2 separate regions of the Homo sapiens genome follow, and region 1 is linked to region 2. The links are contacts of gene promoters, found by promoter capture Hi-C in human tissues and cell types (Jung and others, 2019). All regions are on one chromosome and are shown on one strand. The core of a region is centred on a gene start or on the middle of the fragment in contact, and the rest is flanking DNA. Distances in the headings are between cores, read along the strand shown.

What was found. The method cuts DNA at HindIII sites, captures the fragments that hold promoters and counts their contacts. A contact is called where the count stands out against the background at its distance.
Region 1: a fragment that was not itself captured here is called in contact with the fragment with the promoter of BEGAIN in region 2 in 1 of the 25 tissues and cell types used here (lymphoblastoid cells).

The regions. Positions count from the first base shown.
Region 1 is chr14:101,625,061-101,630,919 of GRCh38, forward strand. It overlaps LINC02320 (long intergenic non-protein coding RNA 2320), which reads right to left. Exons shown (of 6, transcript NR_184269.1): 6 at 3,289-4,344. Among named protein-coding and RNA genes, the nearest start is that of DIO3, 66 kb to the left of the region's middle. The HindIII fragment of the contact is 3,701 bases long and covers 649-4,349 here.
Region 2 is chr14:100,585,805-100,591,651 of GRCh38, forward strand. BEGAIN (brain enriched guanylate kinase associated) reads right to left here and starts at 1,613. Exons shown (of 7, transcript NM_001385089.1): 1 at 1,445-1,613. The coding sequence starts at 1,486. The HindIII fragment of the contact is 7,942 bases long and covers 1-5,847 here.

The sequences.
Region 1 (5,859 bases), core at 1,249-3,748, 1.0 Mb after region 2:
CAAGGCACAGGCTGCGCACACCTACTGGCTGTGACCCTGAGCAAGTTACATAACTACTCTGTGCCTCAATGCTCTCATCTGTAAAGTGAGAGTAACAATTTCTGCCTACCTGACAGGGCTAAGGGAGGATTAAATGAACCAATATCTGAAAGTTCTCAGCATGATGCCTGGCCGATGAAAAAAACCTCAGAAAGTGTTAGTACTACTACTACTAATAATAATAATAAGCAATAACAATGAAGAGTTCATGGCCCCGTGACAGTGGTGCCTGGCACTGACCTCTGTGTTTGTTCTAATTCTCTCAAGACCCCTGAGAATAACTGCCACACAGATGTCAGCACAGGGGCTGGGCCTCCCTGCCCACTTTCTGCTTCCCAGAAAGTGGCCAACTTCCCCCTGGCCAACTATGCTTTCTAGCCAATATGTAAGTTATGGCTTTTCCTCTGTGGCTCAGCATAGGGAGCAGGGCAGGAGAAAGGCAGGGACTCCACCAAGGTCACACAAAGAGTGCCAGTGGGGCCTGGTCCACCCTTCTCAGGAAGGTCTGAGCTCCCTGTCCTGTGCTCCCATAATACCTAACCTTCACCTTGCAGATGAGTCACTGCAACTGTGCTTGCTCTTTAAGGTCTACCTTGCCTGTAAAAGCCAGAGCTGTTCATGCAAAATTTCCTGCACCTGGGCCTGAGTCAGAGTTGGTTCTCAACCAATATTTTTTAGTGGATGAGTAGGTAGGTGGATGGATGGATGATTGGATGGATGGATGGATGGATGGATGGATGGATGGATGCATGGATGCATGGACTGACAGATGGATAGGTGGATGGATGGTTAAGTAGGTGGGTGGATGGATGGATGGATGGATGGATGGATGGATGGATGGATGGATGGATAGATGGATGGATGCATGGATCGACAGATGGATAGGTGGATGTATGGTTAAGTGGGTGGGTGAATGGATGGATGGATGGATGGATAGATGAGTTCCAGTGTGAATGGATGGGTGGATGGATAGGTGGATGAGTCCTGAGATGAATGGATGGGTGGAGGGTAAGTGGATGAGTTCCAGAATGAATAGGTTTGTGGATGAGTTTGTGGATGGGTTGTGGCTGGGTAGACTTCAGAGACAGCACTCTCCTGGGACATATCATTGAGCCTTTCCCCATAATCTGAAACACAAGGAGGCTTCAATGGTGTGGGATCCAAATGGGATCCAAAAAAGATTCTAAAACCTTCTGAGTCAAGTGCATTTGGCCTCAGTGGGCCTCAGTCTATCCATCATGAAGTTGTGAGAAGAGGACCAGCCTGCCTGTGTTTCACGATTCCCGGGATGAACCCTCCTTAAAGGAGAGGTACAGTAGCACCTTGAAAAGGGTAAGTGCTGCAAAGACCTGGTTTAGAGGATAATGTTAGCCCTGCCAAGGGTACCAAGGGTGCAGCAGGGAGACACGCCCTGCCAGGCCTGTCCTGGGAGCATGCACGGGTTTGCCCTGGCAGGCATGCAGGTAGAGGGAGACAGCCGCCCTCAAGGCACTCATGCCCTCTAACCCAGTAATTCCACTTCTAAGAATGGACCCTAAGGAGGTAGTCAAGGATTTCCAGAGAGACTCACCTATGAGTGTGGTCATTGCAGGGTCAGAAAAGGGAAGATGTCCATGTAATAACAGACTTCAGCGTAAATAACTCATTTCTCTACACTGCAGGGCACTCCTCCACAGCGGAATATTACGCAGCTGTTCAAAGTGGGTTTTTGAAGAATGACTACATGGCATGGGAAACTCTTAAAAGATTACTGGAAAAAAATCAAGATAAGACAAACTGCACGTGGAGTAAGATCTCATGCCTATTGGGAGGAAGTCTCTTTCTGAGTATTTGCTTGGGAAAAAAGTCCTCAATAGGTATATACCAGAACGCCTGGTTATCTCTAGGTGGGGGGATTATAGCGTTTTTTCTTCCTAGTAATTTTCCATATTATCCAAATTGCATTTCAGGGGTGCAGGCCAGGGGGTGGCCCTGAGTGGGCCTCTGTCTCTGAACTTCCTTCCCTGGGGACCAAACAGGAAAACCCCCACCCTTCCCCTCCAGAAGGGAGGGATTCCTAAGGACAGAAGAGCTATGGAGGGAGGAAGTGCCCTGTCCAAGCCCTTTCAAACATCAGGATACATAAAACTCCAGGCCCTTACTGCCTGCATCTTATCTGAGAAGTGGGATTTTTGGAGCTATGTCATTGCCAGCTTTGCTGTCTCTCCGTGTTTTTTTCACCTTCCACTTTTTTTTTTTTTTTTTTTTTTGAGACGGAGTCTTGCTCTGTCGCTAGATTGGAGTGCAGTGGCACGATCTCGGCTCACTGCAATCTCTGCTTCCCGGGTTCAAGTGATTCTCCTGCCTCAGCCTCCCCAAACTCCCACTGGGACTACAGGCGCCTGCCGTCACGCCCAGCAAATTTTTTTTTTTTTTTTTTTTTTTTTTTTAGTAGAGACGTGTTTCACCATGTTGCCCAGGCTGGTCTCGAACTCCTGAGCTCAGGCAATCTGCCCGCCTCGGCCTCCCAAAGTGCTAGGATTACAGGCGTGAGCCACCGCTCCCGGCCTCACCTTCCACATTTTCTACAATGAACAAGAAGAACTTGGCAAGTCAAGAGAAGAAGCAAAGCCATAGAGAGCTAGCCAGGGGCGTTGGCCGGCTGTGGATCTGTCCAGACCCAGGCCGCCCTCCTACGCGGGCCTGCTGCAACCTGCGCTGGGGTTGAGGCAGGAACCAAGCTTGGGGCCAACCGACTGCGTGGGACGTGGCTCCCGGATCTGCCCCTCACCAGCTGAGGACACCGGAGCGTCTCTCTCCAGGACTCAGTTTCCCCATCTGTGAAGTGAGGATAGTCCCACCCCCCAGCTCAATGGATCCCTGCGGGAGGAGGGAATGCGAGGCTGGTTGTGGGTCGGGGGGCCTCTTTCCGATTCTTCCTGAAGAACCCTGCACAGAGGAGACGGGGGACTGGGAGGGGCCTGGGTCTCCGAGTGTGGGCACGGGGAGCTGAGGTCTTGCAGCTCCTGGGTCTGGGGCGCCGGGGTTCTGTGAGAGCCCCAGCTTCGTCACGTACGACTTCCTCTCCTCTAATTGAGGGAATTGCAGAAGCCCCGGAGGGCGGCTGGTTCAGAGACCGAAACAAAGGCAGGATCAGGACCCTGGATCAGAATGGGGTCCACGCGTGAGTCTCTGTAATTAACGCTCTGGTGTCTCAAATTACGAGAAAATATATAAAACATGTAATTGCTTCTGTATTTTGGACACTCATTAGGAGAATAATAAATGTTATTATTTATTAATATGGTAATGAATCATCTCGCTTTTAAAATTAAACATTAAACCGCTAACAAATTAAATGTAAATTATTAGGCCCCGAGTTGATGGAAAGAGTTCCCCGGGGAGGGGCCGCTGGGCTCCTTCTTTGCAGAAATGAGTGCGTCGCCCTTTAACTAGGCGCGGAGGCTGCGAGCGGTGCGGGGTGACCTGAGGACACCCGAAGACACGGGCGACTCGCGGGGACATCCTGCCCCCTGCCGGCCGCGAGCGGGACCGCAGCGGCCCGCGGGTAGCGTCCCGCCGCGGAGGTGGTTTTTCCTTGTGATCTTTCCAGAAGCAGTGAAGCCCTCTTGGGCACCCGCGCCCCTCGCCTGGCAGACAGCCACCCGCTCGCGCACGAACTCGCTGCACAGAGCTGTCAGGAGTGGGGCGTGTGGCCTGGAGCGAGGCTGCTCGCGTAGGCTGGGCCTGGGCTCCTGGCCGTGTTGTCACCGCCAATCCCCACACACGCAAGAGAAAGCAGCTTCTAGCCTCATCTCACACACGGGAAAGTGAGGCTCAGAGATGTGTGGCCTGGCCGGGGTGCACAGCCAGTATCCGGTGGGCCTGGGATGCCAGCCCAGCCTGCCAGGCCCCAGGGTGGCCATCATGGAGTGGGACTCCCGGGCTGGCCCCCCAGAGCCTGTTCCAGGCACGTGCATTTGAATTAATGGGGTTACTGTTTCCTGAGGGCTCTTGCCAGACACCAGCTACTTACTGCACGTGGTTGAGCCCAATCAAGTAGGCAGTGTGCCCTGTGCCCATCTTACGCACGAGCAGACTGAGGCACGGAGAGGCTTCAGCGACTTGCCCAGGTCAGCAGCAAGGAAGTAGGGGCAGGAGAGAGAAGTAGGTCTTGCTGAGTCTAGAGTTAGCTCTTGACCACTCCAGGCCAGACTGGGTTCTCCCTCCTTCCAGGAGGAGGGCAGGCAGCCCCATCTGTGCCCATCCCTGCGGTGCACAAAACAGTGCAGCTTCCGGGCCACTGGCTGTGTTTCTAGGGATCACCTGAGTTAAAGCAAGAAAAGGAATCATTATTTTTTTAACCAATACATGATTTGGGGCTTAGAGGTTGTTTGCAGTCACTCTTATGAAGAATGCTACAGCAGACACCGTGGGTTCAAGGTTATTTCCTTGGGAAAGACTTCCAGAAGTCAAACTGCTGGAACCAAAGGCTGGGACAGCAGGATTTTGGCATGCATGTTATTAGGATCCTTCTCGTATATGTGTCCCAGCTTGCACTCATCTGGGGAGGGACTCAGAAAAGAGGGCCTCCTCCCCTCACAACCAATAGCACCCTTGAGATGGCCCAGGCTGGCAGGGTTGGAAAAGTCCAGCTCATCTATGGTCCAGTTCTCTGGTGGGCACTGACCCTTGAGCCAGCCACACCCACACCCACACCCACACCCATGCCTGTGGGGATCAGAGGTCAATAGATGCAGCCTCCAATGGTCTGAGGCTCCCTGACTTTCCTCCCGCCTTCTCTCCGTGTGTAATCCCAGCCCAGGGCCACCCTTTGGTGGCAAACACAGACACCCCTGTGTCAGCCATACGTATTCAGCCAAGGCTTTATGAGTACCTTCCACTTAGGAACCCTCACTTCTGTCTCTGCCTTCCCTTGCGATTATGAGTCCCAGCAATGGCAGCTGAGCACTCAGGATGCCCACTCCTGGCTCTGACTTTACGTCACTTTCTCAACACGTTACAGGTGAAGAGCCTGCCAAGTGGCCGAGCCACGATTTGGCCCCAGAGCCCAAGTTCTGTTCTTTCCTTGGGTCTCTGCTGTCTGCCCAGGCCTGAGCATGGTCCCTCAGACAGGCTCAGGAAGTATTTGTGGATGAATCAATGAACGACCCCGTGAGGGCCTTTGCCTTTCTCCCCTGCCAGGCTGGGAGCCCCCAGAAGACAAGTGGGGTTGACCATGTGCCTGGAAGGAGTCACGGCTCCTCTCTAGACCGGAACTCCCCACTAGAGCGATGGGGTGCCACAGGGTATCCCAGCAGGCCCGGCAAGCACATCACAGGAGCGTGGAGAAGCGGGACCAGCCGTGCCCCCATCCCTGGGAGCCCTGCCCCCAGCCTTGTCTAAGGCCTCACTTGCCCCATATCTGGTTTGGGGAGCAGGTTTCTCACCCCAATATGATTCTGTTCTCTGCCCCCTCTGCCCTCCTACCCCACACATCCCAGCGTGGATGGACGAGACTTCGCCCCTGCCTCCTGCCCGGGCCCCTGCCATGGGAAGGGGACGCATTATTGCTCTCTCTCAGGGCTATTCAGACACCAACTAATTTATTTCCCTCCTGCCCCCTTCCTTATTGATCAATGCTTTAGCTGAGTGGCTGTTAAATGACTTGTTCCCATAGCAACCATCAGATACATGCTCGGATCTGATGTGTCTGTTTCCTGAGCCAGATCGCCTCCTAAGAGCTTGGAGAGAACAAATCTCCTTTCATATCCGTCGCTGTCTTCTGAAAGGCACAGGATATTGTTCAGAACAAGTCATTTTTTAAAACAATATTAAAAA
Region 2 (5,847 bases), core at 363-2,862:
TTGACGACAAACGGAACGCGGAGCCTTGGAATCTATAAATATGAGACAAAAGCTGGGGAGGGCCCTTGGCGGCAGCGCAGCCGCCCATCGCCCAGAGCCCGTGTGCTGAGCCCGGGCAGAGCCGCATCTGCCACAGTGCTTGCTTTTCCAAGCTGCCCTGATTATAGTGAGAGTCGGGAAAATTAAGGGTTTGCAGGATGCTGCTGGGGCCCTCTCTGCCGTCTCCCCGCCCTGCGTGTCACAGATGCCAGGCAGAGCCACCCCCAACGGCCAGTTGCCCCTGCTGGCAAGACCAAGGCCAGCCTGGCAGGGCTGCACACCGCAGTTTGTTAGGGGCTTCTGCCCACAGTCCTCGTGGGAGCCTGGCCCTGGGAGTAGTGGGGGTCTCTGCTGCTCTTGGCAGGCAGAGGAACTAGGGTCCAGAGAAGGAAAAGAACCTGTCCATGGCCTCCAGAGAGCCAGAGCACTGGGGCCTCCGACGGAGCCTGGCTGTGGAGACCCCGCCCCACCCATACCCCCAGGGCCTGGACCCCCAGTCTGCACTGGCGGCCGACCTTGGCCATGCGGACTTTGCACGTGCAGTGCTCCCTATCCATCCGGCCCCGCTCCCGGGTGCCCACTCTGCTCCCATTCTGCCGGCTCAGGAGACTCCAGCGCGTCGCCCACGCTGTTCCTGCCCTGAGGAAACCACATTGGGGATGGGGTGGGGCACAGACGAGGAAGGAAACACCTCTAAACCAAGCAGGAAGCGGAAACGCTGGGGCAGAAATTCCCATCCAACGTGCTGGGGCTCAGGGAGGGTGAGCGCGCCGGCTGAGCCGCTCTGGGCGAGGCCCTGGCCTCCCTGAGCCTCAGTTTCCTCGCCTGTAAAGGGGCAGGAGGATAGTACCTGCCGCGAGGTACTGAATGGGATGGTGGTGTCCGAGGTTCGTGCGCGCCCACGCGCTGCAAACGCTCAATGAGGCGGCCCCGGGTCCAGCCTCCTTCCGGCTCCCGGGCCTTTCTCCGGCCTCCCAAGCAGGGGCTGGCCCTGCCCCCAGACGCAGGCGGGTCCAGGCCTGCCCGCACCCTCGCCACCCGCCCGGGACAGCGGCGGGTCCCCAGTCCTCCGGCCGCGCCCTTGGTCACCCGTCCCTCCTTTCCTTCCGCCGCAGGGGCGCGCGTGTCAGGGCGCAAGGACCCCGCGATAGGACCCGGGCGCTCCCGGCGGCGCGCGGAGGCTGGGCATCCCCGCCCCACCCGAGAGTGCCCAGTTCCCAGGAGACCCGGCCCGGCTCCTCCCGGGCCAGTGAAGCCTCCACGGCGGGGGCGCAGCGCGGAGGGGAGCGGGGCGGGGGGCCGGCCACCTCCCGCGCTGAGCAGGGACCGCCCCAGGCGTGGGTGGCGCCCGCCCCGCCTCCGCGCCCGCGCCCGCGCCCTGCCCTCCCGGCTCGCAGGTACTCACCGCCCGGCGCAGCCGGCCCGGCCGGCGACCGCCAGTCCACATGGCCCCAGGGCAGCCGCGCCGCTCACCGCCGCCGCCGCTACCGCCGCCCCCTCCCCTCCGAGGCCGAGCGCGCCGGGAGCCGGCGCGGCCGGGGCTCCCCCACCCCGCCCGGCTTCCCGCAGGGAGCGCCCGCCCCCCGCCCCCAGCCCGGCTCCCCGCCAGCCCCGGCCCCGCGCAGCCGCGGCTGAGCCCGCGCGTCCTCCCGGCAGCGCCCGGCCGGGGCGCAAGTGGTGGGCGCAGGGCCGGGCAGGGGCGCGGGGGTGCGGCGTGCGCGGGGGCCAGGCGAGGAATGGCAGAGGGGCAGGGAATGAATGAACCCGCGCCAGCTTGAATGGCTGAGCGCGTGAATGAATGAGTGCGGTAGAGCATGCGGGGCTGGGGGGGCGGGGGGAATGAATAAATGAGAGAACTAATGCACGGGCGCGAAGGTGAGTGACAGAGTGAATGGGCCCTTGAAACCCAGAGGCTGTCAGTAATGACCTGCCCAACCTTTTCATCGGTCCATCCATTCAATCCCTCAACATTTATTAGACACCTAGTGTGTACCAACCAGCCCTGCTGTAGGCCCCAGGGGGTACAGTAGCGAGTGAAACCAAGCTCCTGCCCTCGCAGAGTCACATTTTACAGATGAGGAAACCCTGGCTCCCAAGGGTGCCTCCTGGCCAAGCTGCCCCTTACCCTGCCCTTGCTCTGCCCGAGCCCCCAGTCGGTGGCTTCCAGGGCTTGCCTTCTCCCCAAGGAGCTCTCAGGAAGGGAAGGTGGCTTCAGGAGGACCAGTGTTGCCCCCTGCCTATCCCTCCAGTCTGAAGCATCCCACCGACCTGCCCGGTAGAGCCCAGGCTGGCCAGTCCTACCCTGGTAAAGGTGCAGCGTGAACCCTCCTCTCTCCTCCCAGAGCGGGCAAGGGGCAGCCCTGAGGGTGCCAGCTACATGAGGGTCTTCCATCCCAGCCAGCCCAGCAGCAGCCAGCGTGGGAACCCGGGGAGGAGCACTGGCAGCCAGGGAGGGTCCTGCGTGGTGGAAACAGAGCTGGCAAAGCCCGTGTGCTTCGCTCATATCCTCCCTCGGGACCTATGGGCTCATGGTTCACACATGCTTATATCATTTCCAAGTACATGGCAGATTAGAAGATGCTGCGAATGAGTACCTTGTATATTTTTGTTTTTTAATTGTGGAAAACATGGAAAACATAAAATTTACCATTTTAACCACTTTTAAAGTGTACAGTTTGGGGACACTGAGTTCCCACTGTTGAGCTGCCATCACCACCATCCTTATATGCTGTATGTTGTATGCTTTGCAGTTTCTACGCTCTCTCATTTAATCTGGGGAGTAGGTTGCTACATTCAGGCAGTGTCAGTGCTGAGAAAAGGCACTGATAGCAAGGCAAGAGGGGAAACCCAGAAAAAAAGGAGACAAGCAAAAGAACCAGCAGCTGACTGGAGCCACTTCGTGTCAAGCAAAGTCCTGTCTCTGCTCCCTCTCAGGTCCCAGGGACATGATTGGGTAACCAATGGACAGAGGGAGGCGCCTCCAAGTGCACCCCACCACAGTCAAGACAAAATGAGAGGCGGCAGCTCAGGGCGGGGCTCTCCCAGTTTGGGCGAAGCGTGGACAGACTTCGCCCAAACCGTCGCTGGTGTGCACCACGGGACCAGCCTCTTTGCTCAAGGGGGCCTTAGTCTCCCCAGCAGGAGTAGGGACAGGCTCCCTGACCTCCACTCTGGCCTCTCAGGTTCAGACACCATTCAGGCAGCACACAGCAGTGGAGGCATCCTGTGAGAGGTAGTGAGGCCCAGCCTGCCAGCTCCAGTGTCCCTTCCCTCCCCAGTCCCTAAGGGGACAAACACCAATGGGGGATGTGGAACCTGGGGTACAGGCAGGGCTCTGCCCACATTGCCTCCTCCTGGGCTGCGGCCCTTCCCCAGAGGCTGGTCCTGCTCAGATGGTGCCAGAATGTTCACCGCCCGCCCTGGCACTGCTGCTGCCAACGCCACAGATGGCTGGGGAGGCGGGGGAGGGGCGGGTGGGGTGGGGGCGGCTCCTGCTTCAGCTCCAGCAGCTTGCAGGCTTCAGCTCAGGCCTGCCTGGGAAGGCCCCAGGAGAGCCCCTCCCCCATGCTGCACGCACCTCCCGTCCCCACCCTCCCTGCCCTCTCTTCTATCCTTCCCACTCCAGCCCCCTTAAGCTAGGAAGGCGGAGAGAAAGCAGGCATTGGTTGTGGGTCTGGGAGCATCCCTGCAATGCCCCTGTAGGGGAAGTGGTACTAGCCCCTTTTTGCAGATGGGGAAACTACAGTCAGTGCAGCAGAGCCTGGGGCATCAGGCAGGCTTCCTGGAGGAGGCAAGGTTTCAGCCGGGTTGGGAAGAAGGGATGAAAGTGGCAGGACTTCGAGGTGATGCCCTGGGGCCATGGAGGACCCTCTCCTCAGGCCCCTGCCCTCATTCAGACCTCTACGGACCACTCTGTTTGACATCACCATCCCCATGGCTCAATCTCGTTGCCCTATTTTGTTTTTTGCGTGTCTCTTACTGCGTTCCAGAGCTATCTGATCTGTCTGTTGATGTGGACATCAATCTCCCCGCTGGGATGCGTGGTCCTCTACTGTGGTCAGGGAGCAGGGCAGGAAGTGGCACCACACTGGGGCTCATGGTTAAATGTGCCAAAGAATGCATGGATGGATGGAGGTGGGGGAGATAGGAATAGCCTGGTGTGATGCCAGGCTTCTGGCCCTGGTGGCTGAGTATAAAAGAAAGGACAGCACGTCAGGGAAGTCATTGACAGTGAGGCACCCGCAGACAGCCACATACAGGGGCTCCAGCATCAGCTAGCCATGCTGACCAGTTCCCTGCCTCATCTTCCAATCCCCACCCACAAGAACAGATTGAGCAAGGGTTCTGACTATGAGCCCTAGAGAATGGGAAGGTGAGAGGTATCTTCCCACTCTCCCACAAACAACAGGTGCTCCAACTGAAACTCTGGAGTCCCCTGCAGAATCGGGCTACAGCTGCCCTCCACAGGTGGTGAGAAGGCCCTGAATTGGCCCAAGTGTGTATCTAACAATGACCCCAACTGCAATATTAACCCAAATTCCAACCTATATCAAATGCTAAACCTAACTCTAATGGGACCCAAAACCAAAGCAAACTTTAACCCTACCCCAATGCTAGCCTGAACAGTAACATGAACCCTAAACCCGACTCTAACCCCAACACTGTCCTGCCAGAAAGCAATAACCTCAACCCACACCACACGCTAAAGTTAACCCAGACGCCAACCCAAAACCAAATCCCAAAAGGAACATTAAACCAAACCCCAACCCAGCCCTAACCCTAACACTAAACACTGCCAAAAACACCCCAAGCACTAGCCCAAATCCTAACCATAATCCCAACCCCAAACCTAAGCCTAATCCCAACCTGACCCTAACCCTAATCCCAAACCAAATCCTAACCCTAATCCTAACCCCAGCCCTAACCCTAACCGTACCCCGCTGCCCTGTTCCTTCACCTGCTTGTCCTGGGAGCAACGATGAGGGGGGCCTGGGACCGTAGGAAGCGGGCACAGGCAGCTGGGAGCCTCGTAGGTGCTCTGTCCGAGGCAGGTCCCAGGCCCAGGGGTCTGGCCCACTGCTCCTCCTGGGGTGGTGCTGTGAGCCCCTTGGCCTCCACCCCACTGCCTGCCCTGCTCTGTCTCCATGGGAAGCAGCAGTGGCCTCCTCCCTGGGCCTCTGCCCCTGTCAGGCCTTTCCAGCAGGTGGAGGTGGTTTGGATGCTGTGGCTTGGGCTTCAAAACTGTAAATAGGGGAAACCATTTTCAAACAAATATTTGTCAAGCAAAATCCCATCTCATCTCAGTGTGACTGGGCTTATCTCTTTATGCCCTGGGCCTGGGTACGGAGGGCACCATCCTGGGCCTCCCATGCTTGAGCCTGGGCAAGGGGAGCGGACACAGAGCAGGGGATGGCACCGAGGTGGCCTCACTAAGACAGAAACTGCCACTGGGTGTGCGTGCTGCTGCGAACAGTCAGCAGGGGTTCACCAAGGCCACCTGGGGGTCTGGGCTCCTTCAGGGGCCCACCTGCTAGGTCCTGGGCCAGGCTCGGCCCTGCTGCTGCTGTGGTGCCCTCCCCAGCCAGGCTGAGCTCCGGCTACATCATCCCTGTCCATACCTTCTGTTTCCGGGTCCTTGCACAGGGAGTTCCCTCATCCTGAGATGCCCTTCTGTGGAGTGTCCATGTGGAAACCTCCTCATCTCAGCTCCCAAAGTTGCTTCTTCTTGCAAGCTTTCCCAGATTGCTCCCAGCTAGGCCCCTCCCACCTATCCCACTGCTGATGCCCGGCAAGGCTCATAGTCAAAAC